Regions from separate parts of the Homo sapiens genome. Here all the other regions are linked to region 1. Evidence: promoter capture Hi-C in human tissues and cell types (Jung and others, 2019). All regions are on one chromosome and are shown on one strand. Each heading gives the region's core, a stretch centred on a gene start or on the middle of the fragment in contact. The rest is flanking DNA. Distances are from core to core; before and after follow the strand shown.

Evidence for each region. The method cuts DNA at HindIII sites, captures the fragments that hold promoters and counts their contacts. A contact is called where the count stands out against the background at its distance.
Region 2: a contact is called between the fragment with the promoter of C1orf167 here and the fragment with the promoter of UBIAD1 in region 1, in 1 of the 25 tissues and cell types used here (spleen).
Region 3: a contact is called between a fragment that was not itself captured here and the fragment with the promoter of UBIAD1 in region 1, in 6 of the 25 tissues and cell types used here (aorta, bladder, dorsolateral prefrontal cortex and 3 more).
Region 4: a contact is called between a fragment that was not itself captured here and the fragment with the promoter of UBIAD1 in region 1, in 1 of the 25 tissues and cell types used here (spleen).
Region 5: a contact is called between a fragment that was not itself captured here and the fragment with the promoter of UBIAD1 in region 1, in 2 of the 25 tissues and cell types used here (heart left ventricle and thymus).

What each region holds. Positions count from the first base shown.
Region 1 is chr1:11,269,459-11,275,725 of GRCh38, forward strand. It overlaps UBIAD1 (UbiA prenyltransferase domain containing 1), which reads left to right and starts at 3,740. Exons shown (of 2, transcript NM_013319.3): 1 at 3,740-4,602. The coding sequence starts at 4,074. RefSeq lists silencers at 3,319-3,588, 3,649-3,698 and enhancers at 3,699-3,868, 3,959-4,008. The HindIII fragment of the contact is 12,769 bases long and covers 1-6,267 here.
Region 2 is chr1:11,758,291-11,764,557 of GRCh38, forward strand. C1orf167 (chromosome 1 open reading frame 167) reads left to right here and starts at 3,903. Exons shown (of 21, transcript NM_001010881.2): 1 at 3,903-4,015; 2 at 6,041-6,180. The coding sequence starts at 6,111. It also overlaps the pseudogene LOC101060126. The HindIII fragment of the contact is 8,265 bases long and covers 1,589-6,267 here.
Region 3 is chr1:11,713,207-11,719,473 of GRCh38, forward strand. It overlaps DRAXIN (dorsal inhibitory axon guidance protein), which reads left to right. Exons shown (of 7, transcript NM_198545.4): 6 at 1,913-2,002. Among named protein-coding and RNA genes, the nearest start is that of AGTRAP, 20 kb to the right of the region's middle. The HindIII fragment of the contact is 6,853 bases long and covers 1-6,267 here.
Region 4 is chr1:10,967,960-10,974,226 of GRCh38, forward strand. CIROZ (ciliated left-right organizer protein containing ZP-N domains) reads right to left here. Exons shown (of 13, transcript NM_001170754.2): 3 at 2,011-2,130. Among named protein-coding and RNA genes, the nearest start is that of CIROZ, 11 kb to the right of the region's middle. RefSeq lists a silencer at 545-644. The HindIII fragment of the contact is 8,687 bases long and covers 1-6,267 here.
Region 5 is chr1:11,560,027-11,566,293 of GRCh38, forward strand. No RefSeq gene overlaps it. Among named protein-coding and RNA genes, the nearest start is that of LINC01647, 46 kb to the right of the region's middle. The HindIII fragment of the contact is 3,838 bases long and covers 1,248-5,085 here.

The DNA of each region.
Region 1 (6,267 bases), core at 2,490-4,989:
GCTGCAACACTTTGTACCTATTTCCTTATGTGTAAAACTGGAAGGATTATAGTCTCTTCGTTGGTAGGCAGTATTGTGGGGGTTAAACGCTAATACCACACGTAAAGTACCTAAAAGAGGTACTTGGCCCAGCATGGTGGCTCACACCTGTAATCCCAGCACTTTGGGAGGCCAAGGCAGGTGGATCACCTGAGGTCAGGAGTTCGAGATCAGCTTGGTAAAACCCTATCTCTACTAAAAATATAAAAATTAGCTGAGCATGGTGGCAGACGCCTGTAATCCCAGTTACTCAGGAGGCTGAGGAGGAGAATCACTTGAACCTGGGAGGTGGAGGTTACAGTGAGCCGAGATCGCACCACTGCACTCCAGCCTGGGCGACAGAGCAAGACTCCGTCTCAAAAGCAAACAAAGTATATGGCTCATGTGAAAAGTCAATAAATGCTGTTTACTATTATTCCTGAGCATTTCTATGAGGCAGGTTGTATTGTTCCCACCTTATATATAAGTAAGCCAAAGAACAGAGATATTGGGACATGGAATTGGTAAGTGATAGAGCCAGGATTTTAATCTATCTGCTGATATATTGTCTGATTTGACATTGTATGACTCATGGGTTTGGCCAGCATAGAAAGCTCTGTGTTGAGTGGTGAAGTTGTAATGTTCAACAACCAGATTGGGGGTAAGTGGAAGCAGACATGTACAGAGCTAGCTTCACAGCTGTGTCATGCTCTGTTTTGCAATTGTTAATGATTTTGAACAAGAGGCCCCACTTATTTTTTTTATTTTTTAAATTAATTAATTATTTTTTTTGAGATGGAGTTTTGCTCTTATTGTCCAGGCTGGAGTGCAATGGCACGATCTCGGCTCACCGCAACCTCCACCTCCCGGGTTCAAGTGATTCTCCTGCCTCAGCCTCCTGAGTAGCTGGGATTACAGGCATGCGCCACCACTCCCGGATGATTTTGTATTTTTAGTAGAGACGGGGTTTCTCCATGTTGGTCAGGCTGGTCTTGAACTCCCAACCTCAGGTCATCTGACCACCTTGGCCTCCCAAAGTGCTGGAATTACAGGCGTGAGCCACCGTGCCTGGCCTGGCCCCACTTATTTATTGATTTTATTTTATTTTTTTGAGATAGGATCTCACTCTATTACCCAGGCTGGAGTGCAGGGGCACAATCATGACTCACTGCAGCCTCAACTTCCCAGGCTCAGGTGATTCTTCCGCCTCAGCCTCCCAAGTAGCTGGGACCACGGGTGCACACTGCCACGCCTGGCTAATTCTTTTACTTTTTCTTTTTCTTTTTTTTTTTTTTTGAGATGGAGTCTTGCTCTGTCGCCCAGGCTGGAGTGCAGTGGCACGATCTCGGCTCACTGCAAGCTCCGCCTCCGGGGTTCATGCCATTCTCTTGCCTCAGCCTCCCAAGTAGCTGGGACTACAGGTGCCTGCCACCACGCCTGGCTAATTTTTTTGTATTTTTAGTAGACATGGTGTTTCACCATGTTAGCCAGAATGGTCTTATCTCCTGACCCCATGATCTGCCCGCCTCGGCCTTCCAAAGTGCTGGGATTACAGGCGTGGGCCACTGCACCTGGCCCACACCTGGCTAATTCTTCGATTTTTACCGTGTGGTCCAGGCTGGTCTTCTCCTGGGCTCAAGCGATCCACCTGCCTTGTCCTCCCAAAGTGTTGGGATTACAGGTGTGAGCCACCACATCTGGTCTTTTTAATTTTTTAGAGCGGAGATCTCACTTTGTTGCCCAGGCTGGTCTCTAACCTGAGCTCAAGAGATCCTCCCGCCGGGTGCGGTGGCTCACACCTGTAATCCCAGTACTTTGGGAGGCTGAGGCAGGCGGATCACGAGGTCAGGAGATAGAGACCATCCTGGCTGACACGGTAAAACCTTGTCTCTACTAAAAATACAAAATAATTAGCCGGGCGTGGTGGCGGGCGCCTGTAGTCACAGCTACTCGGGAGGCTGAGGCAGGAGAATGGTGTGAACCCTGGAGGCGGAGCTTGCAGTGAGCCGAGATTGTGTCACTGCACCCCAGCCTGGGCAACAGAGCAAGACTCCGTCTCAAAAAAACCTCCTGAGTAGCTGGGACTACAGGCACACATTATCACCCCCAGCTCCACCTCTTTAGTTTGCACTGGGTACCACAAATTATGTAGTCAGTCCTGTGTGCATCTATGTTGCATGTGTATTATAATTTCACTGATGTAAATGATGTGTAGCATACAGTTTACAAATACTAAAATATACAGTACAGGACTCTATTGTAAACTCCATATAGCCAGTTCTCACAGTATGCTTTCTTTGATGTTGTGTAGCTTCCCTATGGTCCCAATTGATCAATGAGCATAGTTCAGACATGAATGTTGGTTGATATTTTATGTTAGGAGTAAGAGGAAAGTGAAACAATCAAAAGAGATATGTCAGAACTTCACTAGTTTGTCAAGGCTACAAGCGACTTATTTGTTCAACTGGATAATAATTTGCCAATGCTGAACGAATATTTCCTCAAAGTTTTGGTGCATTCACTTACACACTTTTTTTCTCTCTTTTTTTTCTTTTTTGAGACGGAGTCTCGCTCTACTGCCCAGGCTGGAGTGCAGTGGCGTGATCTTGGCTCACTGCAGCCTCTGCCTCCAGGGTTCAAGCAATTCTCCTGCCTCAGCCTCCCGAGTAGCTGTGATTACAGGAATGCACCACCACCCCCGGCTAATTTTTTTTTTTTTTTTGAGATGGAGTCTCACTCTGTTGCCCAGGCTGGAGCCCATTGGCATGATCTTGGCTCACTGCAACCTCCATCTCCCGGGTTCAAGCAATTCTCCTGCCCCAGCCTCCCGAGTAGCTGGGATTACAGGTGCCTGCCACCACGCACGGCTAATTTTTGTATTTTTAGTAGAGACAGGGTTTCGCTATGTTGGCCAGGCTGATGTCGAACTCCTGACATCAAGTGATCCGCCTGCCTCGGCCTTCCAAAGTGCTGGGATTACAGGCGTGAGCCACCGCACCCTCCAACACTTTTAAGTTTAACCAGTAATATGAACATTTTCTCCGCCACTTTCTTAAGTCTAGACGACTTAGCAGTTATTAAGCATTTGCTGATTTGCGTGGTGTAAATTCTCCCACCATGGGCAGATTTCAAGCTGCTGAAGGATGTCACTGAATGAAAAGCTGATAAGAGGTGAGCAGTAGCACATCATAGAGTATTTCCACGGTGCAGATATGATAGACGTCAGAATGTATGCACACAGCAGGCGCTCAATAAATGCTTGTAGCATGAATAAATTAATGAATCCTACTTCGTGAATGAAAGTGCGCCCGGTAAGTCCTAAAGCAACACGCCTTCGAGTTCTTATGATGCTAAGAGAGGCTGATTGCAGTTAGTCTGGAAGTAGCTGCGGGGCGCAGTGCAGGCAGGAAAAGGGCTGGATGCCGGGTCACCGCCCGGCCCCAGCTCCTGGCCCGTCCCCGCTCCCGGTCCATTCCCGCCCCGGCCCCGCCCCCTCCCGCCCCACCACCGGTCTGGCCCCGCCCCTCAGCCCCGCCCCACCCCTCACCGCCCTTCTCCCCGCCTCTGACCCCGCCCCTCCTCTGACTCGGCCCTGCCCGCCCCGCCTCTGACCAGGCCCCCGCCCCCCACCCCTCACCGCCCTTCTCCCCGCCTCTGGCTCGGCCCCGCCCCCTCCCGCCCTCCAGCCCACCCTCCGGTCCAGCCCGCGCCGCCGGCACCTGTTTCCGGGCGGGCCTCCAGAGGCCGGCGCACAAGATGGCGGCTCTGGCGGCCTAAAGAAGGCGGCCGCGGCTCAGCCGTGGGCTCTAACGCGGGGCTGGGGGCCGGAGACAGACTTCGCCCAGGTGACGGGTAGTAGGGGCGGCGCCGCTTGGCCTCGTGGGGTGTAAGACCCACTTGCTGTTGCCCCCGGACCTTGCCGCCACACCAGCCCTGTCCTGGGGCGGAACCGAAGGAAGGTCGGGCCCTGCTGCCCCGCCCCGTCCTTCCTCCTTCCCGGGCGGTCACTGTGCGTGGCTCACTTTTAGAGTTTACTTCAACCACGTGGAGCTTCCATGGCGGCCTCTCAGGTCCTGGGGGAGAAGATTAACATCCTGTCGGGAGAGACTGTCAAAGCTGGGGACAGGGACCCGCTGGGGAACGACTGTCCCGAGCAAGATAGGCTCCCCCAGCGCTCCTGGAGGCAGAAGTGTGCCTCCTACGTGTTGGCCCTGAGGCCCTGGAGCTTCAGTGCCTCACTCACACCGGTGGCCCTGGGCAGTGCCCTTGCCTACAGATCCCACGGTGTCCTGGATCCCAGGCTCTTGGTGGGTTGTGCCGTGGCTGTCCTGGCTGTGCACGGGGCCGGTAATTTGGTCAACACTTACTATGACTTTTCCAAGGGCATTGACCACAAAAAGAGTGATGACAGGACACTTGTGGACCGAATCTTGGAGCCGCAGGATGTCGTCCGGTTCGGAGTCTTCCTCTACACGTTGGGCTGCGTCTGTGCCGCTTGCCTCTACTACCTGTCCCCTCTGAAACTGGAGCACTTGGCTCTTATCTACTTTGGAGGCCTGTCTGGCTCCTTTCTCTACACAGGAGGTAAGATTTGGCCTGTCCTGTGTGCTGCAGGTCTTAGTCGCGTCCACTGGAAACCGCTGCTTTGTAAAGGAGTTATAGGGATGTCAAAGGTGGCTTTCTAATTTAAGCCGCTTTAATTGAAGTCTATAATTGTGGGTGATGTGAATTTTTTGAAACAGTGATTTGAGAAGATCCTGGTTTGACTTACGGACGTAGGGCATGACTGAAAATTTTATATGGACATTTATTTTTATTTATTTTTTATGTATTCATTTTTGAGACGGAGTCTCGCTCTGTCGCCCAGGCTGGAGTGCAGTGGTGCGATCTCGGCCCACTGCAGCCTCTGCCTCCCGTGTTCAAGCGATTCTCCTGCCTCAGCCTCCCGAGTAGCTGGGACTACAGGTGCACGCCACCACGCCTGGCTGATTTTTGTATTTTTATTAGAGACGGGGTGTCACCATGTTGGCCAGGATGGTCTCGATTTCCTGACCTCGTGATCCACCCGCCTCAGCCTCCCAAAGTTCTAAGATTACAGGCGTGAGCCACCGCGCCCTGTCAGGACATTTTTTAATTTTTTTTATTTTTTTTGAGACAGAGTCTCGCTCTGTTGCCCAGGCAAGGGTGCAGTGGCACCATCTCGGCTTACTGCAACCTCTGTCTCCCGGCTTCAAGCGATTCTTCTGCCTCAGCTCCCCGAGTAGCTGGGACTACAGGCATGTGCCACCACGCCTGGCTAATTTTTGTATTTTTAGTAGAGACAAGGTTTCACCATGTTGGCCAGGCTGGTCTTGAACTCCTGACCTCATGACCTGCCTGTCTTGCCCTCCCAAAGTGCTGGGATTACAGGCGTGAGCCACCATGCCCGGCCTATATGGACATTTTTTCTGTCTCATTTTTTTTTTTAATCACTCATACTTTATAATGCCACAGTTTCAAATATTAGAATTAAATCTGAAGAGTTCAAAATGATATAGATAATTACTTCTAGCTAGTTTGCTAGGTGACTTCTTGCAAGAGGCTGATTAAGGTAGTGATGGGCAGGTGGGTAAGCCCTATTTATTGAGCACCTATTATGTGCCAGGCACTGTTCTGTGTGAACACAGCAGTCACAGATCCCTGCCCTTGTGAAACTTACGTATTATCATGAAAAGAGACAGAAAGTAAAAATAGAAAATTATAGTTAGGGTGACCAATATCCTGGTTTGCTCAGGACTAAGGTGACAGGACTAAGTCGGATGTGCGACTTCTGGAGCTAAAACCAGAAAAGTTCCTGGTAAGTCAGGTTGAATTGATCACCCTGATTATAGTATATGAAAGATGATAAGTGCTATGGGAAAAAAAAGTAGAGCAAAGAATGGGACACAGATTACTATTTTAAGTAGTTTGATCAGGGTAGGCTTCATCAAAAAGGTAACATTTGGCTGAGTGCAGTGGCTCATGTCTGTAATCCCAGCCCTTTGGGAGGCTGAAGCGAGAGGATCGCTTGAGGCCAGGAGTTAAACACCAGCCTGGGCAACATAGACCCCTGTCTGTATAAAATATAAAATAAAAAATATTAGCTGGGCATGGTGGTGCTTGCCTGTGGTCCCAGCTACTTTGGAGGCTGAGGCGGGAGAATTGCTTGAGCCCAGGGGTCAAGGCTGCAGTGAGTCCTGATCACACCACTGCACTCCAGCCTGGGCGACA
Region 2 (6,267 bases), core at 2,653-5,152, 490 kb after region 1:
ACTGCACTCCAGCCTGGGCGACAGAGCGAGACTCCATCTCCAAAAAAGAAAAAAAAAAATGCAAGAAAGGAGAAATATGAAAACTCTGGCTACTAGCAAGCACAAAAATAAGATAGAATAAATATGTCAAAATCATACATTTGTAAAGAATTAAACTCAAGATACATTGTCAGATCAGATTTTTTAAAATTCCAGCTATATTGTGTTTACAAATGACAAACCTAAAATTATGGACATGGGAAGGCTGAAGGTAGAAGGACGAAAAAGTTATACCAGGCAAATAGGGACCAAAGTGGAACTGGTGGTGCTAAATTAATATCCCACAAATTTGACTTTAAGGCAAAAAATATTACTACAGATTAAAGAGAGTCAAAACCTAAAGAACAGGCCAGGTGCGGTGGCTCACGCCTGTAATCTCAGCACTTTGGGAGGCCAAGGCAGGTGGATCACCTGGGGTCAGGAGTTCAAGACCAGCCTGGCCAACATGGTGAAACCCCGTCTCTATGAAAAATAAAAAAAATTAGCTGGGTATGGTGGTGCACACCTGTAATCGCAGCTACTTGGGAGACTGAGGCAGGAGAATCACTTGAACCCAGGAGGTGGAGGTTCCAGTGGAGGTTCCAGTGAGCCAAGGTTGCACCACTGCACTTCAGCCTGGGCAACAAGAGTGAAACTCTTTCTCAAAAAATAAATAGGCTGGGCGCAGTGGCTCATGCCTGTAATCCCAGCACTTTGGGAGGCCGAGGTGGGCGAATCACCTGAGGTCGAGAGTTCAAGACCAGCCTGACCAACTGGAGAAACCCCGTCTCTACTAAAAATACAAAATTAGCCGGGCGTGGTGGCACATGCCTGTAATCCCAGCTACTATGGAGGTTGAGGCAGGAGAATCGCTTGAACCTGGGAGGTGGAGGTTGCGGTGAGCCAAGATCACACCATTGCACTCGAGCCTGGGCAACAAGAGCGAAACTCCGTCTCAAATAAATAAATAAATAAACAAACAATAAAATAAAATAAAATAAATAAACCTAAAGAACAAAAGCTTCCATCCACCAGATTTAGGAGGAAAGATTAGACACACAGACCTATAAAGGGAGCAGTAATCACCCCCTCCTTCTTCAAGAATTGCTTTAGCATTTAAAAAGTTCTTTGGCATTTATTTGTTAAACATCTGACCCTCACATCAAGGCAGAGAGGTAGGGGAGGGAGGTGTTACCACCCCCACCACTTTTGTTTTGTTTTGTTTTGTTTCGTTTTGTTTGAGACAGTTTCACTCTTGTCACCCAGGCTGGAGTGCAGTGGCGCAATCTTGGCTCACTGCAAACTCTGCCTCCCGGGTTCAAGAGATTCTCCTACCTCAGCCTCCCCAGTAGCTGGGACTACAGGCACGCACCACCACTACCAAGCTAATTTTTATATTTTTAGTAGAGACGGGGTTTCGCCATGTTGGCCAGGCTGGTCTGGAACTCCTGACCTCAAGTGATCCACCCACCTTGGCCTCCCAAAGTACTGGGATTACAGGCGTGAGCCATTGCATCGGGCCTAACCATCCCCCTTTTACATATGAGGAACCTTAGGTTTAGAGAGGTTAGGGACTTGCCTAAGATCACACAGCAGCAGAAGGATTTTTTTTTTTTTTGAGACAGGGTCTCACTCTGTTGCCCAGGCTGGAGTGCAGTGACATGATCGTAGCTCACTGAAGCCTTGAACTCCTGGGCTCAAGCAATCTTACTGCCTCAGCCTCCCAAGTAGGTGGGACCACAGGTGTGCACCACCACAGCCGGATGATTTTTGTATTTTTTTTTGTAGTGATGAGGTCTTGCAATGTTGCCCAGGCTGGTCTTGAATTCCTGGGCTTATGAGAGCCTCCCACCTCAGCCTGCCCAAGTGCTGGGATTGCAGGTGTGAGCCACTGCGCCTGGCCAGCAGAAGGAGTTCATCACAGGTTTTCTGACTGAGTGCTCTTTCCTCTCCCAGCAGGTGCTTAGAAAGGAGAAAACATACAGTCTGGACAGAGGAAGGAGTGGGATGGCTGGGCACAGTGGGGAACAATGTGGGCAAAGGTTTGGGAGGTGGAAAGTGGACGGACCTTTGCAGCCTTGAAGGAAGTGTGATCGAGCTAGGCTGACGGCACGGCAAAGCTTGGGTATTAAGGTGGAGTCCAGCCAGTTTCTGAGGTGCCTGAAGGCTGGGAGAGTTTTTCTTTCTTTTTTTTCTTTTCTTTTCTTTCTTTTTTTCTTTTTTGAAACAGAATCTCACTCTGTCACCCAGGCTGGAGGGTAGTGGCATGATCACCACTCACTGCAACCTCCACCTCCCAGGTCCAAGCAATTCTCCTGCCTCAGCCTCCTGAATAGCTGGGATTACAGGTGCACACCATCACACCAGCTACTTTTTGTATTTTTAATAGAGATGGGATTTTGCCATGTTGGCCAGGCTGGTCTTGAACTCCTGACCTCAAGTGATCCGGCTGCCTCGGCCTCCCAAAGTGCTGGGATTACAGGCATGAGCCACCACATCCAGCCTTTTCTTTTCTTTTCTTTTTTTCTTTTTTTTTTTTTTTTTTTTTTGAGACAGAGTCTTGGTCTGTTGCTCAGGCTGGAGTGCAATGGCAGGATCTTGGCTCTCTGCAACCCTTGCCTCCCAGGTTCAAGTGATTCTCCTGCCTCAGCCTCCTGAGTAGCTGGGATTACAGGTGCCCGCCACCATGCCCGGCTAATTTTTGTATTTTTAGTAGAGACAGGGTTTCACCATGTTGGCCAGGCTGGTCTTGAACTCCTGATCTTGTGATCCGTCCACCTCAGCCTCCCAAAGTGCTGGGATTACAGGTGTGAGCCACTGTGCCTAGCCTTTCTTTCTTTCTTTCTTTTAACAAGAAATTTGTTATAGTTTTATTTTCCTTTGCATTTGCAAAATACTTAGGACCAACATGAAAAAGAAATACCTTCTATGGGGAAAAAAATGGCATTAAAAAGGAAGATGGGAAGGCTGAAAGGGATTTGTGCCTTAGTTGCAAGGAGCTGCAGCATCTCTGGTCCAAGGAATCAAAAAGATATTGGGAAGATATAACAGGAGGAAGAAGAATGTGAATTTACTGAGGGAGAGGGCCCCAAAGTGGGCCTTGAGGGGGAACTGGAGGCCCCGGAGTGGGTCTGGGTGGAGGGAGAGTCCCCCCCGGAAGCCATAGGGTGGGTGTTGGGGAGGGCCAGTGTATCCATGAGGCAGCATCGGTGGAGGAGGTCCACACATACCATGGAGGCATAGGACGTGAGTGACCCATGGGAGATCCAGACCGAGACCCCTTGGGGGACATGCTCATTGGAGGAGGTCCAGGATGAGGCATTCCAGGTGGTGATCAGGGTGGTGGCTGCCCCCCAGATCCTGGGGTCCCATCACGGGTGTGTCCTCAGCCATGAGGGCCATGGTTTGCCAGCTGCATCTGAGACATCCCTGGATGGGACATCGCACCTATTGGGAACGGGTGAGGATGTGAGTGTCCATGACCCGGATGTCCTGCCCCTGGGGTTCCTACCAGTGGGAGCCGGGGGCATGTCCTGCAGCCCCAAGAGGCATAGGTGGTGGGGACATGGCTGGGGGTATCCCAGATGTGCGGGGGCTCCAGGAGGCAGCTCTAGGTGCGGGAAGGAGCCAAGAGGAGGCACGCCTGGTGGAGGAAGCCCAGACCCCAGTGATGCTGCCACAGGATTCGGGGCAGAGGGTGGAGGAGGTTCCCGGGGACCTGATGGCCAAGAGAATGTCGCTCATCTTGCACGTGCAAAAGTTGCCCTGGGACCACGTGCCTTGCCTGCGGAGGACCCGGCAAAACCTGTACCAGGACGTCGGTGGCCACGCCCACGGCTCAGGGCTGGGCGGGGCCAAGCGCGGGGCAGCACGCTCTGCTCTCCGACGTCCCCTCCCGCCCGCGACCTGCCGACCTGCGGGGATCGTTAGCGGTCCCAGCCCCCGTCTAGATTCAAATCCGACTGGGTGAAGGAGGACCCGAGGAGGACCCACGCACGTGAGGGCAGATCCATGAGGGCAGGAAACTGACCTCAGACTCTTTTGGTGGCAAGAGGAGGGAGGCTGTGAGCCCCCTTAAGTGGACAGGGGTGGGGGTGGAGTGGGAGGGGGGAGTCTGAGGGAGACGGACGAGGAGCGGAGAAATGGACCGAAGAGCTCCGGCGTGAGGGGCAGGGGTGCAGGAAGGTCTCCTGTGGATTGAGCGGCCTCAAGTCAACTTGGGCAAGAGGGGATGGTGGGGTGTTCTTGGTTAGGAGTCTGCGCTGTGGAGCCAGCCCTGGGGTGCTCCCTCTGAGGCCTTGGGTGGGACAGGCCCTTCTAAGCTCCTGTCCTCATTTCTAAAACAGGGAACCTAAGTCCCAGGGCTGCAGTGCAGATTAAATGGCAGGACGCCTGCTGAAGGCTGCAAGGTGCCTAGCACGGTTGTCATTTATTCAATGTGCATTTACAAGCCCCTGCTGGGGGTCAGGCATTGTTCTATGGGCTGCAAATCCAGCAGGGAAACAAACAAACAAAAAAAACCAGCCTGCCCTCGTGTGGCTCCTAGGCCACTGGAGGGAGAAATACACTAATTTCTTCACTATGTTAGGTGGCCGCAAGTGCAGGGCAAAGAGAGTGAGGAGAGGCCAGGTTGCTGCAGTTGGAGAGACAGTGGGCAGGGAGGGCTCACTGTGATGTGGGAGGCAAGACTTGAAGGCAGAGGGGACAGCAGCACAGAGGCGCTGAGGTGAGGTCGTGTGTGCCATTTGGAGGAGCAGCCAGGGGGCTGGTGTGTGTGGAGGACAGTGGGCAAGGGGAAGAGGAATTGGGGAGGACCATAACTGGCAGCCAGATTTTAAAGACTTTGCGGGGCTGGGTGTGGTGGCTCACGCCTGTAATCCCAGCACTTTGGGAGGCCGAGGCGGGCCAATCACCTGAGGTCAGGAGTTCGAGACCATCCTGGCCATCATGGTGAAACCCTGTCTCTACCAAAAAATAGAAAAATTAGTCTGGCGTGGTGGCATGTGCCTGTGGTTCCAGCTTGTTAGAGGCTGAGGTGGGAGGATCCCTTGAGCCCAGGGAGGCAGGCGGAGGTTGCAGTGAGCCGGGATCACGCCATTGTACCAGCCTGGGTGGCAAAGTGAGACTCCGGCTCAAAAAAAAAAAAAAAAAGGTTTTGCAGCCTAAGGTATCTTGCAGCTATTGAGCTCTGCTATTGCAGCTGGAAAGCAGACAGTCTGTAAACAAATGGGCTTTGTTTCAATATAACTTTATTCACATAATAGACCACTGGCCCAGGCAGTAATTTGCTAACCTCTGGCCTACAGCCTTGAAGGCTCACGGGGCATTGAGGGGGCTGGAGAGCTTCTGTGGCATTAGAGTTGAGGCAGGGCATGATTTGATTTCAGTGTTTACAGGATCACCCTGCCGCCGCATGAAGAGGAGGCTGTCGGGCGTGAGGACGAGGCAGAATAAGGGTGACCAGTTGGGAGGTGGCAGGTGAGGGCCACTCCGCCCAGTGCTCCAGGGGTCAGATCCTGGATGCGTGTGGGAGGCAGAGCCTGTCAGAGCAGCCACTGGTGTGAGGGAGAAGGGGAATCGGGGTGGCTCCAGGATTTTTGTTTGAGCCACCAGAAGGCCGGAGCTGCCATCCGTGGAAAAGGGGGGCACCAAGATGGGAGAGAGCTGGTTGCGAGGACGGCTGGAGTTCAGTTTTGGACATATTAATGCTGAGATGCCTGTTAGACATCCGGGTAGGCGTGGAGGAGGTCGCTGGACCTGCATGTTCAGACCTGTATGCAGATCAGCCGAGAGGTCTGGGGGGCAGGATGGGGCAGCATTTGACCTGGACACTTAATATGGAAAGGGGGGTGATAAGTAGGGCAGGGAGAGGAGCCACTGAGAGACCAGAACAGTGAGGGGCAGGCCCCAGGCAGCTGGGACCAGGCCAAGAGCAGCTAGGAGTACTGCTAAAGGGAGGAGGTAGGGATCAGAATGGGGTGGGGTTGAATGAGAGCCAGGGCAACCTGTCCTCTCCCCGCAGGGCCCATCTGATTAAACAGACCAGGCCACTCACTGTGGAGTGGACCAAGGATACTCCTGTCCCTGAGCCCATGGAGCTAAGGTCTGATGCCAGCCACAAGGAGAATGTGTCCCCAAAGCCTGCAGCGCTCCCGAAGCCAGGCAAGAGGCTTAGTGGGCCTGGATGGGCAGTTACAGGAGCAGGGCCCTCTCTAGGTATTGGCCCAGAGCCCCCCTCCCAGGCAGGCC
Region 3 (6,267 bases), core at 1,696-4,195, 440 kb after region 1:
AAAAATACATTACTCACAACAACGCAGTTTTCAAGCCAGGTGATTGAGCCCCAGAGAGGCTGTCTTGCCCAAGGTCACACGGTTAAGAAGTGGCTCCAACCTGGCCTGGCTGGAAAGCCTCTTCACCACAGCCCCATGCTGCCTTAAATCGGGATGATCCTCTCTTGCCCTCTTCCTCCTGACACCAGGCAGGGCTTAATGCTGTCCTTGTCCCATCGCAACACTGCCAGGCATTCTGGAGATGCTTTTGGTGACATCCTCACTGTTCGGCAGCCGTCTCCATGGAGACAGTCTAAAAACAAGAAGCCGGACGTTGTAACTAATGTCCTAAACCCTGGGGGCCCTTGGGGGTCCGTCGGACCTTCCAGGAAGCAGATACTGAGGTAAGTTAGAAGTGTGAGACCGGGTGCAGTGGCTCACACCTGTAATCCCAGCACTATGGGAGGCCGAGGCGGGAGGATCCCGTGAGCCCAGGAGTTCAGGACCAGCCTGGGCAACACGGGAAGACTCCATCTCCAAAAATAGTAATAATTTAAAAAAATAACCAGGCTTGGCTGGGTGCGGTGGCTCACGCCTATAATCCCAGCCCTTTGGGAGGCCGAGATGGGTGGATCACAAGGTCAGGAGTTCAAGACCAGCCTGGCCATGAAACCCCATCTCTACTAAAAATACAAAAATTAGCCGGGCATGGTGGCAGGTGCCTGTAATCCTAGCTACTCAGGAGGCTGAGGCAAAGAATTGCTTGAACCTGGGAGGTGGAGGTTGCAGTGACCCGAGATCGCACGACTGCACTCTGACAGAGCGAGACTCTGTCTCAAAATTAAAAAAAATAAGAAAATAAAAAATTAACCAACCAGGCTTGGTGGTGTGCGCCTGTGGTTCCAGGTATTCAGGAGGCTAAGGCAGGAGGATCACCTGAGCCTCGGGGGTCAAGGCTGCAGCGAGATATGATCGCACCACTGTACTCCAGCTTGGGTGACAGAGCAAGACCCTGTCTCAACAAAACAAAACAAAAAGCACAACAGATTTATTTTGGGGTGGGCTAGGGGTGGGAAACACTTGTGAATGACGAAAGGTGGAGGAAGCATGGAGGAAGCTTCAGACATCATGCACCGGATGGGCGCTCCAGTACAGAGGTGGCCTGTTAGACGAGGCCCGTGCTGAGCAGAAATGGCTGGGCCCCAGAACCCCCATGCCCGTCATTGGCAGGGGCTGCTGGGAACAGCCTGCCATGGGCCAAGGTGGCCCTGAAGCTGTACCAGCTGGAGGCCGCCAGCAAGTGCTTTCCCCAAGAGAGATCGGAGCGGCACACCTCCACGGCACCACGATTGTTAGATCAGTGACCAGAATATTCTACAAAACAGCAACCAAACCAGCAATTAGCATTGTATAAGGCAAACCACCAGCTCCCTGACAGGCTGCTTCATTCCCAAACCATTGTTTTCACCCTGGGCACAAAGAAAAGGCCCGCATTTGGGCCGACTGGACAGTCGCTCTGGGAGCCGGCTCCATGGCAGGTGCCCAGGACTTCAGTTTCCCCATCTGTCAAAAGAGGACATTGGTTTTGGGGATCCTGAGGCCCCTCCCAGCTCTGAGCTGACTCCACACCTGGCAGCCCCCAGCTGTTCTACTGGCTCTGTCTGGGAGGAGACCTCACACCACCTTCGCTCTTCCCATGGTCAATCAGTACCCCATCTGAGGCAGCTGGGGTCTCTGCCACCGACCCTTGGGGGCCTCGGCCATGACATCTCCCTGTGGTTCCACTCAGGAGCCTTGCACACCAGATGGCCCACCCCGCCAGGGCGCGGCCTGCCACAGAGATGATGGATCTCTTGTCCAGTGGGACCGAGTGCAGGGCTGCGGGGAGGGGCGGCTCAGCTTGGCTGACTGCGTGTGCTCTCTGTGTTGGCAGGGACTTGCTGCGACCTGCGGGAGCATCTCTGCACACCCCACAACCGAGGCCTCAACAACAAATGCTTCGATGACTGCATGTGTGTGGAAGGTGGGTCCAGACTCCTTTGCGGGGGGCTACCCATGCTCTGAGAACCACAAAGCCTCCCTTTCTCGAAGCGGCTTCTGCACCGAGTGGGGAACAAGCTTTCCTGGCAGAGGGTGGATCATGGGCCTGCGGCGGGGGTGTAGGTGGGAGAATCCCTCGGGAGCCGAAGACGTGAGCAAGAACAGCTTTATCAGTGCCTTCCCAATCTGTGAACTCATTTAGTCCTGATTCTTGGCATCATTTCTGAGATTTGCTTTTCTCAACTTTTGAAATACAAGCTGGCACAATCTCCCACTATCTGGAAGAGGGAGAAGGGAGGAGACAGGAGCACATCTCTTTAAATTAGATCCAGCCTCAGAAGGCTGCCGCTTTCACACCAGAATTCTATCCCAGAGGAGGCATTGAAGTGTGATAATGGGGTGGGGGTGGGTTTCCCAGCATGTCCCAGGGAAGGATGCACTTGCCCAGCTGCCTCTTCAACTCCTCCGTGCCCCCACCTCGCCTAAGTGTGCTGGGCTCTGTGCTGAGCACTTTTCTACTGAAATCCCCATGACCACCCCTAGAAAGGAGCTATGATGATCCGCACTGTACAAATAAGCCAACTGGGGCACAGAAAGCTTAATGATGCCCAAACTTACACAGCCAGGAAAGTGGGGGGAATAGTTTCAGGTTTTTGTTTTGTTTTGACAGGTTTTACTCTGTCACCCAGGCTGGAGTGCAGCAGTGCAGTTTTGGCTCACTGCAACCTCTGCTTCCCAGGCTTAGGTGATCCTCCCATCCCAGCCCTGCAGGTAGCTCTGACTACAGGCGCATGCCACCAGCCCAGCTAATTTTTGTATTTCTGGTAGAGGCAGAGTTTTGCCATGTTCCCTAGGCTGGTTTCAAACTCCTGACCTCAAGCGATCCACCTGTCTTGGCCTCCCAAAGTTCTGGGATTACAGGCATGAGCCACCACACCCAGCCAGTTTCAATTTTGTATTCTGCAAAGTTTCAAATATATACTAAAGTAGTTAGAATAGTCTAATGAGCGCCCATTTCTCATCACTCTGCTTCAATACCAACTCACGGCCAATCTGTGTCTATCATCTCTCACACACTTTCCTTATTCCGACATGATTTCTAAGCAACTCCTGGGAGCTTACAGGTATTTCACCTGTGAATATTTTAGTGTGTACCTCTGAAAGACAAGTACTCTTTTAAAAACAAAATGCCAAACATGAACGATAATTAATCAGTTCCATCCAATATCAAATCAGCATTCACACATCTCCTGGATGGGGGAATTGGGGCTCAGCCCCTCTGTGGACCTGAGATACATGCCCCGTTTTGCTCATATTAGCCTCAGAGAGTTATCTACCATGATCGTGCCACTGCACTCCGGCCTGGATGATGGAGCGAGACCCTGTCTTAAAAATGATGATAATACATCTTTTTCTTCCCAATTTTTAAAATTGTGGACTTTTAAATTTAATTTAATTATTTTTTGAGACAGGGTTTCACTCTGTCACCCAGGCTGGAGTGCAGTGGCGCAATCCCAGCTCTCTGTAGCTTTAACTCCCGGGCTCAAGGGATCCTCCCGCCTCGGCAATAAAGCTATGTAGTTCTGATTATTCACTCATCTAATCAGTTAAATATTTAGGGAGCACCTACTGCGTATCAGACATTGCTCTGGACACTGGGGGGTTCAGTAGTGAAAAGAACCAGCAAGTTCTGTGCCCATGAATTACATTCTAGTGATATGAGCAGACAACAATCAAATACATAGATAGTATGTCTTTAGAAAATAATAAGGGCTATGGCCGAGCATGGTGGCTCATGCCTGTAATCCTAGCACTTTGGGAGGCCGAGGCAGGAGGATCACTTGAGGTCAGGAGTGAGACCAGCCTGGCCAACATGGTGAAACCCTGTCTCTACTAAAAATACAAAAATTAGATGGGCATGGTGGCACTTGCCTGTAATTCCAGCTACTCGGGAGCCTGAGGCATGAGAATCGCTTGAACCCGGGAGGCAGAGATTGCAGTGAGCCGAGATCCTGCCATTGCACTCCAGCCTGGGTGACTGAGTGAGACTCTGTCTCAAAAAGAAAAAAAAAGTAAGTAATAAGGGCTATAAAGATAATAATATGATAATGAGTCCTACAGTTGTTTTAGAAAGGGTAGACAGAAGTGGGCATTGGAGGCCAGGGGAGTGGTTCATGCCTGTAATCTCAGCACTTTGGGAGGCCAAGGCGGGCAGATCATGAGGTCAGGAGTTTGAGACCAGCCTGACCAACATGGTGAAATCCCATCTCTACTAAAAATACAAAAATTAGCCGGGTGTGGTGACGCGCACCTGTAATCCCAGCTACTCAGGAGGCTGAGGCAGGAGAATCTCTTGAAACCAGGAGGCGGAGGTTGCAGTGAGCTGAGATCGTGCCTCTGCACTCCAGCCTGGGCAACAGAGAGAGACTCCGTCTCAAAAAAAAAAAAAGAAAGGGTAGACAGAAGTGGGCATTGGAGGCCAGGCGGGGTGGTTCATGCCTGTAATCCCAGCATTTTGGGAGGCCAAGGCAGGTGGATCCTTGAGCCCGGAGTTGGAGACCAGCCTTGGCAAGGTAGAGAGACACTGTCTCTACCAAAAATACAAAAAAAAAAAAAAAAATTAGCCGGGTGTGGTGGCGCACACCCATAGTACCAGCTACTTGGGAGGCTGAAGTGGGGAGGATCACTTGAGCCCAGGAGGCAGAGATTGCAGTGAGCCGAGATCTTGCCATGCCACTGCACTCCAGTCCAGGCAACAGAGCAAGACCCTGTCTCAAAAAAAAAAAAAAAAAGGGAGGCCCGGCACGGTGGCTCATGCCTGTAATCCCATCACTTTGGGAGGCGGAGGTGGGCAGATCACTTGAGGCCAGGAGTTCAAGACCAGCCTGGCCAACATGGTGAAACCCCATCTCTGCTAAAAAAAAAAAAAAAAAATACAAAATTAGCTGGGTGTGGTGGCGCATGCCTGTAATCCCAGCTACTCGAGAGGCTGAGGCAGGAGAATCACTTGAACCCAGGAGGCAGAGGTTTCATAAGCCAAGATGGTGCCGCTGCACTCCAGCCTGGGTGACAAGAGCAAAACTCCATCTCAAAAAAAAAAAAAAAAAAAGCAATGGCTCTCCATAGGATGTTTTACAGGGAAGGGCAGAATTTGAGCCACTTAAAAAAAAATTTAATAACCTTTTTCCTTTCCAATTTTCAAGATTATAGACTTTTTAATTGAATTTATCTGTGTATTTTATTTTTTAATTTTTTTGAGACAGAGTCTCACTCTGTTACCCAGGCTGAACTACAGTGGTGCAACCAAGGCGCACTGCAGCCTGGAACTCCTGGGCTCAAAGGATCCTCTCATGTTAGCCCCTCCTTCCTATAGTTGGGACTACAGGTGTATGCCACAATGCCTGGCTAATTTTTACATTTTTTGTAGAGATAGGGTCTCCCTATGTTGCTTAGGCTGGTCTGGAACTACTGGGCTCAAGCGATCCTCCCACCTCAGCCTCTCAAAGTGCTGGGATTACGGGTGTGAGCCACCGTACCCTGTGGACTTTATTTTTAGAGCAGTTTTCTAGAAAAATTTCACAGAATGTGGTTCTCATATACCTGCTTTGCCCCTGCATGCAGTTTCTCCTATTAATAACATCTTGCAATCATGTGGTAGATTTGTTTGTTTGTTTGTTTGTTTGTTTGTTTTCTGAGAGGGAGTCTAGCTCTGTCGCCCCAGCTGGAGTGCAGTGGCATGATCTTGGCTCACTGCAAGCTCCACCTCCCGGGTTCATGTGATTCTCCTGCCTCAGCCTCCCAAGTAACGGGGATTACAGGCACCCACCACCATGCCCGGGTAGTTTTTGTATTTTTTTAAGTAGAGACGGGGTTTCACCATGTTGGCCAGGCTGGTCTCAAACTCCTGACCTCAAGTGATCCACCTGCCTCGGCCTTACAAAGCGCTGGGATTATAGGCGTGAGCCACCGTGCCCGGCCTCTCTTGGTACATTTGTTGCTTGACAAACCAATAGTGATGTATTATTATTACTAACTGAAGTCAACGTAAGTTATAGTTCACTGTGCGGTGCATTCTGTGGGTTTTGACAAATGCATGCCATGTCCCACCATTACGTGTCACACAGAATATGTTCACCGCCCCGACCGCCCTGAGTCTTCTCTGTTCTCCTTCCGTGTTCATTCCTCCCCTCTTCCGGGTTCGTGTCTTTTAAGCTCATTGGGGCTGCCGTGAGGAAGCTGGGTTGTAGG
Region 4 (6,267 bases), core at 1,008-3,507, 300 kb before region 1:
TGAGACTCTGTCTCAAAAAAATAAATAAATACAAATAAAAATACAAAAATTCGTTCGGCGCGGTGGGGGGGCACCTGTAGTCCCAGCTACTCTGGAGGCTGAAGCAGAAGAATCGCTTAAACCCGTGGGGCAGAGGTTGCAGAGAGCTGAGATTGCACCACTGCACTCCAGCCTGGGCAACAAAGTGAGACTCCGTCTCAATAAATAAATAAATAAGTAGTTGTTGAATGAGTGAAAAATAAAGGGGGCTATCTCTGGGTAGAGGGATTACGAGCAGTTTTGATTATCTCCTTTGGATTGCCTGTAGTTTCTGTAATTATCTTGTATTGCTTCTGTCATGATTATTTTTAAAGCATTTTTAAAGCTCACAGTTTCACTTTCAAATGCTTGACTCGACTGTGCATTTGATGGAAGATGAATACGCTATTCCAGAAAACAGCTCTGGCAGCCTTTCTACGTGGGATTCTCTGGTGACATGCTTTCCTTTCAAAAGCACGCAGCTTCCACCGCTATCTTTAGCAAGAGATCAAGGCCGTGCCTCTGGCGGAGGAAGACTGTGAAAGGTAGCTCGCTGGGGAAATAAAGTGTCTGAGCTGGATGTGCAAACTGACCTGGATCGTTTTAGTTTTGCATTCACGTTTGCACTTTGTAAATATTTGCCTGGCACCCTGCTGCTCACACCTGCTTGCTGTCCCCTCAAGTTTATGGAAGGCAGCAGGCACCGTCATTTCTCCATCCCCACCTGGCGCTGCCACGTGAAATGAAAACTCTTCCTCAAAAGCCACAGGTGTCTCTGACAGCGCCTAAAACTAATGGCCTGTGGCTGGCCGCTGTGACTAATTCTCTGATTATTGGCTTTATGATTTTACGCTTAAAACTTCTTTATAATAACACACAGAAATGTTTAATGGGCTCTATCCAAAGCCATAAAAATTACTTATTGAACAAGCGTTTTAAGACTATTAATCTATTGTTTTCCATTAATAATGGCTCTCCAAAGAACAGGCGACAGCTTAATGTATCCACAGCTTTTCTCCTGGAAAAGTGGCCTTTTAATACACAAATGTCTCTCCCAAGGCGTCCCGGGCTGGCTGGCCAATGGGTGGTTGGCCCTCCCAGGGCAGATTTAGGCCCTACCGGTCCCAGAAGGTGCTTTAGGAATTTCCAGAATGAGCAGGGTCCCTAGGAGGTTTTCCTAGACTTGGGTGAGATTGGAAAGCCTCCCTCCTCAATATCTCTTTTTCTGTGCAAAAGAGAGGAGGAACCTGGGGGCTTGCTTTGCAGCCACCGAGATGCAGAGCATGGAGGGAAGCAAGCTATTTGCTCCTCTCTCTACTCGTGTTCCCTCCAGAAGGTTCCAGAAGGTTCCAGGTACGCTGAAGACATCCAATGCTTTCCTACTCCTTCTGTTGGAAAGCTCATGGCAGAAAGGTTTCTGGAAGTGACACTATGCCCCTTGTTGTTTGCTATTTTAGGTGCGCTCTTCCCCCACCAAGCATGTGATGGCCTCCCATTTCTCCCAAGTGTTTGAGAATCACCCCTTTAGTCTCACTTCCACTTTTGCAGAGTGATTTCGATTTTGGAGCATAGCGGCACCAGATGGGCGCTTCTTCCAGGGCTTTGGGCCACTTGTTCATTCAACAAATATTTATTGGGAATCTTCTAAGCACCAGGCAGTGTTCTTGGTTCTGAAGATGCAGCTGTAAACAAAAAGCACGTGGGCCGTGCCCTCACAGTGCTGCCTTCTGTTGGGAAGAGGGGCGCAGATGACAAGCTTGGGAACAATGGCAGGAGATCATCTTACTAGTGAGGAGTGCCGGGATTGTGACTGGGGTGGGCGTGGACGACTTTAGAGAGCCTGGAAGGGCTGTGGGGGGAGGTGGCCTTTGAGCAGAGATTTGAGTGATGCCCAGGAACCTGCAAGAGCCATGGGGGAGGAGCATTGCAGGCAGGGGAAGGCAACACAAAAGCCCCAGCAAAGACCCCGCCCAGCCACCGACCACCTCTTACCTGGCAAGTGCAAGGTCCTGGCCAGCCACCGCCTCAGCCCCTCCACGTGGCTCCTTGGGATCCACAGGGTCATGTAGTCTGAGAAGCACTCAACTGTGTCTGTCCAACAAGAAGATGCTTCTGAGAAGGAAGGAAGGAGGAGGGAGGGAGGTGGGGAAGGGAGGGAGGAAGGAAGGAAGGAAGGAAGAAAGGAAGGAAGGAAGGAAGGAAAAGAAGGAGCTCCTCTCAGCCTGGCTTCAATGGAATAGTCAGGAAAGGGCATGTAGGGGTCATATTGTCCTAACAGAGTGACCCTTTACTCCATACAGAGGTCACAGTTCACAGAATGCCCAAGGAGGAAGAACTTGTTGGGGAGGTCCTCAAATTCCAGCCTGCAGGCTGGGCACGGTGGCTCATGCCTGTAATCCCAACACTTTGGGAGACCGAGGCGGGTGGATCACTTGAGGCCAGGAGTTCGAGACCAGCCTGGCCAACACGGTGAAACTCCGTCTCTACTAAAAAATACAAAAATTAGCCAGGCGTGGTGGCGCATGCCTGTAATCGCAGCTACTCAGGAGGCTGAGGCAGGAGAATCGCTTGAACCTGGGAGACAGAGGTTGCAGTGAGCCGAGATCACACCACTGCACTCCAGCCTGGGTGGCAGCGAAACTCTGACTCAAAAAAAAAGATTTCCAGTGTGCCTACAAGTAACCTGAGCACTTGTTAAAATACAGATTCAGTAGGTCTAAGGCGGGGCCTGAGATTCAGCAGTTCTACCAAGTTCCCAAGTGATGGCTGCTGGTCCAGGGACAACACTTTGAGTAGCAAAGTCTTGGAGGTCATTAAATCTAAACTCTATGTTTTATAGGGGGAGACAGGGAGCAAGGTGACTTCATGGTACATATATGAGTACTCGCCAGGCATGGGGGCTCATACCTGTAATCCCAGGACTTTGGGAGGCTGAGGAGAGCAGATTGCTTAAGCTCAGAAGTTCGAGACCAGCCTGGGCCAAAGCAAGACCCCCCATCTCTAAGAAAAAAATTTTTTGTTTAAATTAGCGGAGCATCGTGGTGCATGCCTGTGGTCCCAGCTACTCAGGAGGTGAGGCGGAAAGACTGTGAGCTCAAGAGGCAGAGGCTGCAGTGAGCCGAGATGGCGCCACTACACTCCAGCCTAAGCGACAGAGCAAGACTCCACCTCAAAAAAAAAAAAGAAAAGGTAGAGTAGGGGCAAACTGGCTCAGCCATGGAATTCTGCAGCTTTGCTGACCACTCCAGGCAGAGAGCACAGCCTGTGCCCAGACCAGAGGGGAGAGGCAGTGCGCAATGTCCTGGTCACCCCTGACCCCAGCCTCTGCCCATCCTGCCCCAGTCCATTCTTGACACGGCAGCCACAAGGGATCTTAAAATGGAAATGAGATCATGTCAGTCCCTTCTCAGAACCTTCAATGGCTCCCCACTACCCTTGGAATAAAATCCAAACACTTCCACAATCCATGTGTTCCTGAGCCAAGCTGGTCTTTTCTCTACCTCAGGGCCTCTGCACATACTGTTCCCTCTGCTTGAAACACCATTCCCAACTCTTCATGTGGCTAGCTCTTCTTCATCTGCAGGTCTCAGCTTAAATGTCACCTCCTCTGGGAGGTCCTCACTGACCACCCCCACCCATTCTCTACCCTGGTCCTGTGTCTCTTTCCTTCCTGACTTGAATCACTGTTGGGAATATGTTACCTAGTTGTTTGTGAGATTTCTGTATACTTCTACTCGAGTGAGGATAGATGGAGATAAGGTTGTCTCGCACTGAGGCAAAGAGAAGCTCAGGAAGGAGAGGGGCCATGTCTGCCTTGTTGACCACTCTATCCCCAGGGTCCTCCCATGGACCAGTGCCTGTTGGCCAGCAACTGCTCAGTATCTGTCCAGCAAAGGGCTGTGGCTGGAGCCTGACCTGCCCTGAAGCTGGAGAATAAGAGAAGCCATGACCCAGAGATTTGTCTTTTTCCTTCTCCCCCATGACACATAAACTACAAGCTCCAGGAAAAGGCGTGAGTTATGTCTAACCTGTTCACCATGGCATCCCCAACACCTTGCCCTGTGCGTGGCATCCACAGAGGCGTGCTAAATATGGGTTAGGCACATGTTTTCATCCCAAGTACTCTAGTACAGAACACTGGAGTTTTCTGTAATCACACAAGAACAACAGCATCGTGAGATTGTTCAGCCCCAGGAAGTGGAATCCTGTTGGATGTAACCTATTTCCCCCAATAGAGCCCTGCCCAGAGTTGATAGAGAGCTTAAGTTAAATATACTCCAAGCTGGGCACAGTGGTGCACATCTGTAGACTCAGCTGCTCTGGAAGATGAGGCAGCAGGATCGCCTTTACCCAGTAAGTTGAGGTTTTAGTGTGCGATGATCATGCCTGTGAATGCCACTGCACTCCAGCCTGGGCAACCTAGCAAGACCCTGTCTCTGAAATACACACACACACACACACACACACACACACACACACACACACACACTCTAGAATTATTCTACAACTGAAGAAATGGGAATATGGAATAATATTGTCGGGCTAATTTCTCTCTCAACAGAGACATTTAAGCCACCAGGAAGAACACAAGGCACCTGGGCCCTGGAGTTGGATGATCAGGGCTTAGACCCTGGATCAACCTATGTGACCTGGGGCGAGTCATTTAATCTCTCCAAGACCCCATTTCCTTTTCTGCAAAATGGGCACATGTGCAGTAAATAATTAACTTGGGTCCAAAGAATTGGCCCTTTGCCCCTCCTGGGTGAAAGCAACTGGGAAGTAAATTCTAAGCCCTTGGAATGTTTTGCCTGTTAAGAGTGTCTCTGTGGCTGGGTGTGGTGGCTCATGCCTGTAATCCCAGCACTTTGGGAGGCTGAGGCAGGAGGATCACTCGAGTCTAGGAGTTCAAGACCAGCCTGGGCAACATAGCGAGATGCCCCCCCCATCTCTAAAATAAATAAGTAAAAATTTAAAATAAAAAAAAAAAGAGTGTCTGTTTACCTGGGGCATTGGGCCTTGCCGTATAGCCTTTGCTGAAAACGTGATTAATGCTGGTGGCCTTGGACCATGTGGTAATCAGTTCAGCCTCTGGAGGGGCTCAAGACTAAAGTCAGGCCAGGTGCAGTGGCTCACGCCTGTAATCCCAACACTCTGGGATGCCGAAGTGGGCAGATCACTTGAGGTGAAGAGTTCGAGACCAGCTTGGCCAACATGGTGAAACCCCGTCTCTACTAAAAATACAAAAATTAGCTGGGCGTGGTTGCGGGTGCCTGTAATCCCAGCTACTCGGGAAGCTGAGGCAGGAGCATCGCTTGAACCTGGGAGGTGGAGGCTGCAGTGGGCAGAGATCATACCACTGCACTCCAGCCTGGATGGCAGAGCGAGATTCTGTCTCAAAAAATTAAAAACAAAATAAAAATTTTAAAAAGACTAAAGTCAGCCACGTGGGTAGTCAGCCATGGCTATGCAACTGACCTCCAGTAAACCCTCTGGATAGGAAGGCTCAGGAGCTCTTCTCAGGTCTGCATACTCTGTATGTATTGTCACTCATCGCTGCTGAGAGAAGCTGGCCCCGTCTGTACAACCCCACGAGGAAAGGGCACCTAGAAGTGGTGGCAGTGGCTGCTGCCATCACACTGGCTGCAGCAGGGAGGTGTGGCTGGGGTCGAACACTCTATGGAGCTGGTGGGAGCCCCGCCCCTTCTGAGTTGGGACGGGAACTCCTTGGGTGCCTCGGCAACCTCCCAAACCGCAGCTGCAGATCCAGGCCTCCTGCTCTGTGGAGCAGGCAGGAGCCCCACCCTCCTGGATGGGGCTACAGCTGCCCAAACTGCAGCTGTGGATCGGAGCCTCCTTGTGCTCTTGGGGGAGGGCTAGGAGCAGGCAGGATCTGCCTTCCCGGGTGCAGCGGCAGCTGCCTTCCCAGGCCCAGGAGCTGGGTGTCTCTGCAGCCTGCACCCTCGGGGACCCCAGGAAGGACCCCCCCCACCAAGTCTCTGCAAGCTCAGGGGTGTCTTCTGCTGCCTGGCCTCTCTCCACTCTAGGGGCCTGCTCAGAGCTCTTAGGGGGTTTGGGGCCAAGCCTGTGAGCCATGAATGGCAGTGGGAGGCTGATTGATTCCTGGGTGGAATGGGGCAGGTCCCCAGTAAGGCCCCACCTGTGGGCCAGGGAGGGCCAGGGCTGCGGGCCGGGCTGCCAGTCCCCTGGACTGGAGTAGGGACTCGTGGTGCCTCTTTCTGGCTGGCCCAT
Region 5 (6,267 bases), core at 1,917-4,416, 290 kb after region 1:
ACACACACACAAACACACATAACCGCATTCTATGATGAGTTCAGACCCCTCTCTGAGCCCAAGACCCCACCCTCCCCTCCCTCTGTGGCACCAGAAGAGCTACTCACCCCCCTCACCAGGGCGGGGACCCCGCTCTTTCATGCCTCCCGCTTGGGCATCCTCACCTCCCCCAGGGACCTGGTCCTTGTGCCTGACACAAATCTGAGGATGTCAGCAAATCCGCATGGGGTGGGGGATGCCATCTTGAATCCCTGCAGGCAGATCTGGGACAAGATCAGGGAATTTCAAGCATGAAAAGATCTCCTTCAGAGATAAAGGAGTTACTATTCATCGTCTCCTTCCAAAGGTGGAGTGATAGGCATTTGCCTTTTCCCCCTCCTTGCAAAACCAACTGGAAACTAAAGCAGCCGGAGGGCTCGGCGGGACCCTACAATCTATGGAAACTGCAGGATTTTATTAGCTTGGCTGTAGATAGGCAGGGGAACCAGGGCAGCAAACTCAACCGTGGGGAGACAGGTGGGGCAGAGGGTGGGGGGCTCACCCTACTTCTATCTGAGCACACAGCCCAACTGGGGCTTCAGCAGCAGGGGATGGGAGGGGACCATGAAGCTCTCGGACACAGGGACAGGATCTGGGGGAACAGGGGGATCGGGGGGCCATGTTCTATTTCAGCTCTACTCTGGAGACTTAGACAAGGCCCTTCTCCTTGGCTTTCATTCATGCAGCTGTAATATGATGGAATTGGATTAGATCAGTCAGTTTTCAAACTTCTCAAATCATGGGACCCTCTGTATAAACAGTCTTCAGTGGAAGTTCCGTATGTGAAATGGGTCTGGAAGGTGGTGGCTGGGAGGATCCAAAGTTCTGCCCATTGGCCCTGCAGAGACCCCTGAGGAACAGTGTGCAAACCTCTGGCCTCGACGGTCTCAGGGCTCTGCTGTCCCCGGATTTTCCAGGTGAGAGCAGGCAACGTCCTGCTCCAGAGCAGGTGGGGAGAAACAGGGTGGGCTTCTGGGCGGCCCTTGAAGCAAGCAGCAGGCAGCACTGGAGAGACTCAGTAGAGCATCCCAGACTGCAGGAGGTGCAAAGACCCGGAGGCAGGAACACAGGAGTCCTGGGAGAAGGCCACGGGAGGGCCCCAGCTGGCACAGGGAAGCCCTCTTGGGGATTGAGGAGTCGCCATCAGATGGGCATGGGGAGAGCTGAAGGAGTTGGCTTTGGGAGAATCTTGTTGACTCAGACTGTCCTGTTGCCCCCACCCAAACACTTGGCAGAACCCCTCCCCAGTGTTCCTTCTAGAGTCCCCAGACCTGCGAAATTCCCTCTGCAGGCAGAGGTCAGCTCCAGCACCTCCCTAGAAAGTTGTATATGGCCTGGGTCATCTTCCTTGGGGTGACTGCCCTCCCTCACAGGCTGTGCCAACCTCTGTGTCCCTCCGATTCCCCTCTGTGTCTCCGCGTTCCCGGAGAGTCACCCTGAGATGGAAAATCCAGGGCTTGGGGTGGCTCTAGTTGGAGGCTTGTCATGGCCTCTCTGGGACCTCTGAGATTTGAGTAATGGGACTTGCCAGGGGAGACACACTGCTAAACCTGCCTCCCTCCTGTCCTCAAAAGTGAGCCCTAAATGGGGAAAGAAGAGCCTCTTCAAGCAATGCAGGGACAGTTGGATACTTGTGAGCAAAACAAAAGAGTAGAGGCCAGGCATGGTGGCTTATTCCTGTAATCCCACCACTTGGGGGGCCATGGTAGGAGGATTGCTTGGGCCCATGAGTTCAAGACCAGCCCAGGCAACATGGCAAGACCCTGTCTCTACAGAGAAAGGAGAGAGAGAGAGAGAAAGGAGAGAGAGAGAAAGAAAGAAAGAGAGAAAGAGAAAGAAAGGGAGAAAGAGAGAAAGAAGGAAAGAGAGAAAGAGAGAGAGAGAGAAAGAGAGAGAGAGAAAGAAAGGAGAAAAGAAAGGAGAAAAGAAAAGAAAGCCAGCATGATGGTGTGCACCTTCAGTCCTAGCTGAGGCAGGAGGATCATTTGAGCCCAGGAGTTAGAGTTTGCAGTGATCTATGATCATACCACACTGTACTCCAGCCTAGGTGACAGACTGAGACTCTGTCTCTAAAAAAAATTTAAAAATAAAGGCATGAGATCCTTCCTCACACTGTACACAAACATTAACTCCAAATGACTCATAGGCCTAAATGTAAGAACTAAAATTATAAAACTATTAGAAGAAAACATAGCAGTAAATCTTCATGACCTTGGGTTAGGCAAAGCCTTCTCAGATACAACACCAAAAGCAAAAGTAACAAAATAACAAAACAGATAAATTGGACTTTAACAAAATTAAAAACTTCTGAACTTCTGGCCGGGGGTGGTGGCTCACGCCTGAAATCCCAGCACTTTGGGAGGCGAGGCAGGTGGATCACCTGAGGTCAAGAGTTCGACACCCGCCTGGCCAACATGCTGAAACCTCATCTCTACACAAATTAGCTGGGCGTGGTGGCGCTCGCCTGTAGTCCCAGCTGCTCAGGAGGTTGGGGCAGGAGAATCGTTTGAACCCGGGAGGCGGAGGTTGCAGTAAGCTGAGATGGCACCATTGCACTCCAGCCTGGGCAACAGAGCGAGATTCCATCTCAAAAAACAAAAACAAAAACAAAAACAAAAAAACCTTCTGAACTTCTAAGAACACTGTCAAGGAAGTAAAAAGACAATGTGCAACATGGGAGAAAACATTTGTGAATCATGTATCTGATAAGAGACTTGTATCCATGGCGTAGCAATGAGGGGAGAGGATTTGAATCCTATCCTCCTCCTACAGGCCATGTGACCTGGGGAAGTTATGCAACCTTGCTGGGCCTCAGTGTTCTCATCTGTAAAATGGGAGTGGAAATAAAAGGCCCCACGTCACAAAGTGCTGTGAGGATGAAAGGGGGGAATGTAAGATAACGCCTGGCCCAAGGCAAAGTGCGCCTTAAATGTGGTCGAGTACCTACTGTGCGCCAGGCCTCAAAGGGCTCCAAGCCTAACAGAGAGATGCAGTGTAAAGGGCCCATCCCACCCTGAATGGAGTGACATCAGGGCTCCTTAAAAGCACAGCAACCCCAAGCTCCAAGTGAGGAGGGGGCAATCCTGGGGTGCTGCCCAGAAAAGAGGGCTTCTGAACAAGCTTTGGGTGTGTCCCCGGCCTAGACCAGTGGTCCCCAAAGCATTTTGACAATCTAATCAGATGGGAGTCCCACCCAACCCACTGAGTCCCAATCTTTAGCCTCAGGAGCCTGGGAATCTGCATTTTCCAAAAGGTCCTCTGTTGAGTCTAGCCATGAACCAGGCTTACACACAGCTGGGAGGCTGGGGGACAGGGACAAGGAAGGTGGGGCAGGGACCCACTGAGGCTTCCAAAGCAATAAGCAATGGCATCTGAGGGCACAGGCTGTCTAAGGAGAGCCCCTGCCATCCCTCTGCCCCTTGGGCCTTTGTGTCCCCAGCAGGGAGAGCACATGCAGGGACTCACAGTCTCTGTCCCCGCCAGCCAGCGGGGCTGATACTGGCCGGCCATTATCTGCCTCCCTGAGGTTTCTTTGCTGTCGAGAGGCAGCTCTGCGAGCTCCTTGGAGGGTCCCCCTGGGGCACTGGAGTGTCTGTTTACAGTTCATTAGCTACTTGACAGAGAGGCTCTGAGAGGGAGAGACATAAAGAGGAAGTGTCAGGGCAGGGGCCCCGCAGATCCGTCAGAAATGAAGATAAAGCTGCTTGCAGATGAGGAGGTCTGACAGTGGCGACAGCTGGGCGCCAGGCCTTGCAGGTGGCCGGTGAATGCAGCTCAGCCAGCCTTCCAGACTCGTTGCCCCAGGCCTGCCCAGTCGGCCTGAGATCCCACACCGGGCCTCCACCAGTTTCCCTGCTGCTGGCTGCCAGCTCTGATGACTACTCATGTCCCAGAAACAACCACGAGGTCCAGCAAGAGGGGACTGGCTAGGGAAACGGCCCGGCACTCCCTCTGTGGGGTATTTCCCAGCCATTCAAGATGCTATTTATAAAGACTTGGGCATTACATGAGGAAATACTTATATGCCATAGGAGAAAGTGGAAAAAAGCAAGACACAAAATTATATCAACAGTATCAGGGTAGGTGCGGTGGCTCACGTCTGTAATCCTAGCACTTTGGGAGCCCAAGGAGGGAGGATTGCTTGAGCCTAGGAGTTCTAGGCTCTGTCTACAAAAAAGTCAAAAAATTAGCTGGACATGGCAGTGCATGCCTGTGGTCCCAGCTACTTAGGAGGCTGAGGTAGGAGGATTGCTTGAGCCCAGAAAGTCAAGGCTGCCCTGAGCTGTGCGGTGCACTGCGGTAGGAGGCAGGGCTCAACTCTGGAGGTGGGGCTCAGACATTGGACCAAATTGAGGATTGGCTAAAACAGGACGATGACAGGGGAAAGCAACTTTTCATAAGACATGCCACCAGTGTGCGATGTCAGTTTACTGTTGCTATGGAAACACCTGGAGTTACCGCCCCTTTCCATGGCAATGACCTAGTGACCCAAAAGTTACTATCCCTTACCTAGAAATTTTTGCATAAACTTCCCCTTAATCTGCATGTAATTAGAAATCAATATAAATATAACTCCAAAACTGCCCTGAGCTGCTACTCTCTGCCTGCAGGGAAGCCCTGCTCTGCAGGAGCAGTCACAGAGCTGTAGGACTGCCATTTCAATAAAGCTGTTTCCTTCTACTCTACCACCGGCTTGTCCTTGATTTCTTTCCTGGGAAAAGCCAAGAACCCTCATGGACTCAGCCCCACTTTGGGGCTCGCCTGCCCTGCATCAGTGCCACTGCACTCCAGCATGGGTGACCAGAGTGAGACCCCATATCAAAAAAAAAAAAAAAAAAAAAAAAACACCAGTTTGAACCCAGTGAAATGAAAATAACTCATAGAGAAAAAAAACAACAACACCTGGAAGGAAAGATAACCCAAAATGTTGATGGTTGCCCCTGGGTGGTAGAAACAAGAGTGATCTCTTTCTCTACTTTCTTCTTTTCTACAGTTCCCAAATTTTGCATACTGAACACGTCTGCTATTATAATAGCAGCAACAAAGTCTATTTTAAAAATAAATAGACTTTAAGTCTATTCATCATCTGAGTTCCTGCACCCACAGGGTTGCCTCCTGCACCCACAGGGCAAGGGCAGGCCTGGGGTGAGAACATGGGCTCACCAGTTCCAGCTTTCCCCACCTGGCCTCCTTGAGGCCCAAGCCCACATTTCCTGCCCTGAGCTGGGGGTCTGAGCCATTAGTCACCCGGATCTTTCAGGGGTATCCGAGGGAGTTTCCACACTCACCCCTCCAGCCACAATTTGGAGGCAAGGGGAGCTTCCTGAGAGCTGGGCAGCCCCTCGCAGCCCACCCCCTCACACCCAAGAACGAGCCTCCAGTACCCCATGTTCACAAATGCAGCGGAGCCTGCCGGAGGATCACGGAGGGTGGCAGAGCATCTGTCCCTCAGCCCTGAGACCCAGAGATGAAAAAGCAAGAGACAGAACTCAGATCTGAGTTTTCAAAAACAGAAGTTGGGCTGGGGGGACTGGGGTGTCTAGGGAGGCTGCTACAGAGGTTTTCAGCAAGTCCTTGATGATGACAGCAAAAACCACATCACTGGGCCCATTTTGTGGGCTGTAGTGGGTGGAACCGTGGCTCCCCAAAAGATGTGGCCACCCAGAGCCTGTGGCTGTAAATTTATTTGGGAAAATGGTCTTTGCAAACATAATTAAATTAAGGATCTCAAGATGAGATCCTCCTGGATTACTTGGGTGGTTCCTACATCCAATGACACCTGTCCTTGTAAGAGACAGAAGAGAGACACAGAGGTGAAAGTGATATGAAGATGGAGGCGGAGACGGGAGTGAAGTGTTCACAAGTCAAGGAATACCAAGCGGTTCTGGCAGCCACCAGAAGCTGCGGGAGAGGCACGGATCAGATTCTCCCTCAGCCTCCATAAGAAGCCAACACGGTGGTACCTTGATTTCCAACTTCCGGTCTCCAGAACTGTAAGAGAATAAATTTCCACTGTTCTCACCCATCTGGTTGGTGGTGATTTGTTACGGCAGCCCTGGGAAAGGAATCCACAGCTAAGCCCTGTGCACCACTTTGTCTAATGAGATAGGCTCTTTCATCATCCCCATCTTACAGACAGCGAAAATGAGGTCCAGAGAGGGTAAGTAACTTTCCCAAGGCTACACAGCAGTGATCATGAGGCTGCACCTGGGACCCAGGTCTGCCATC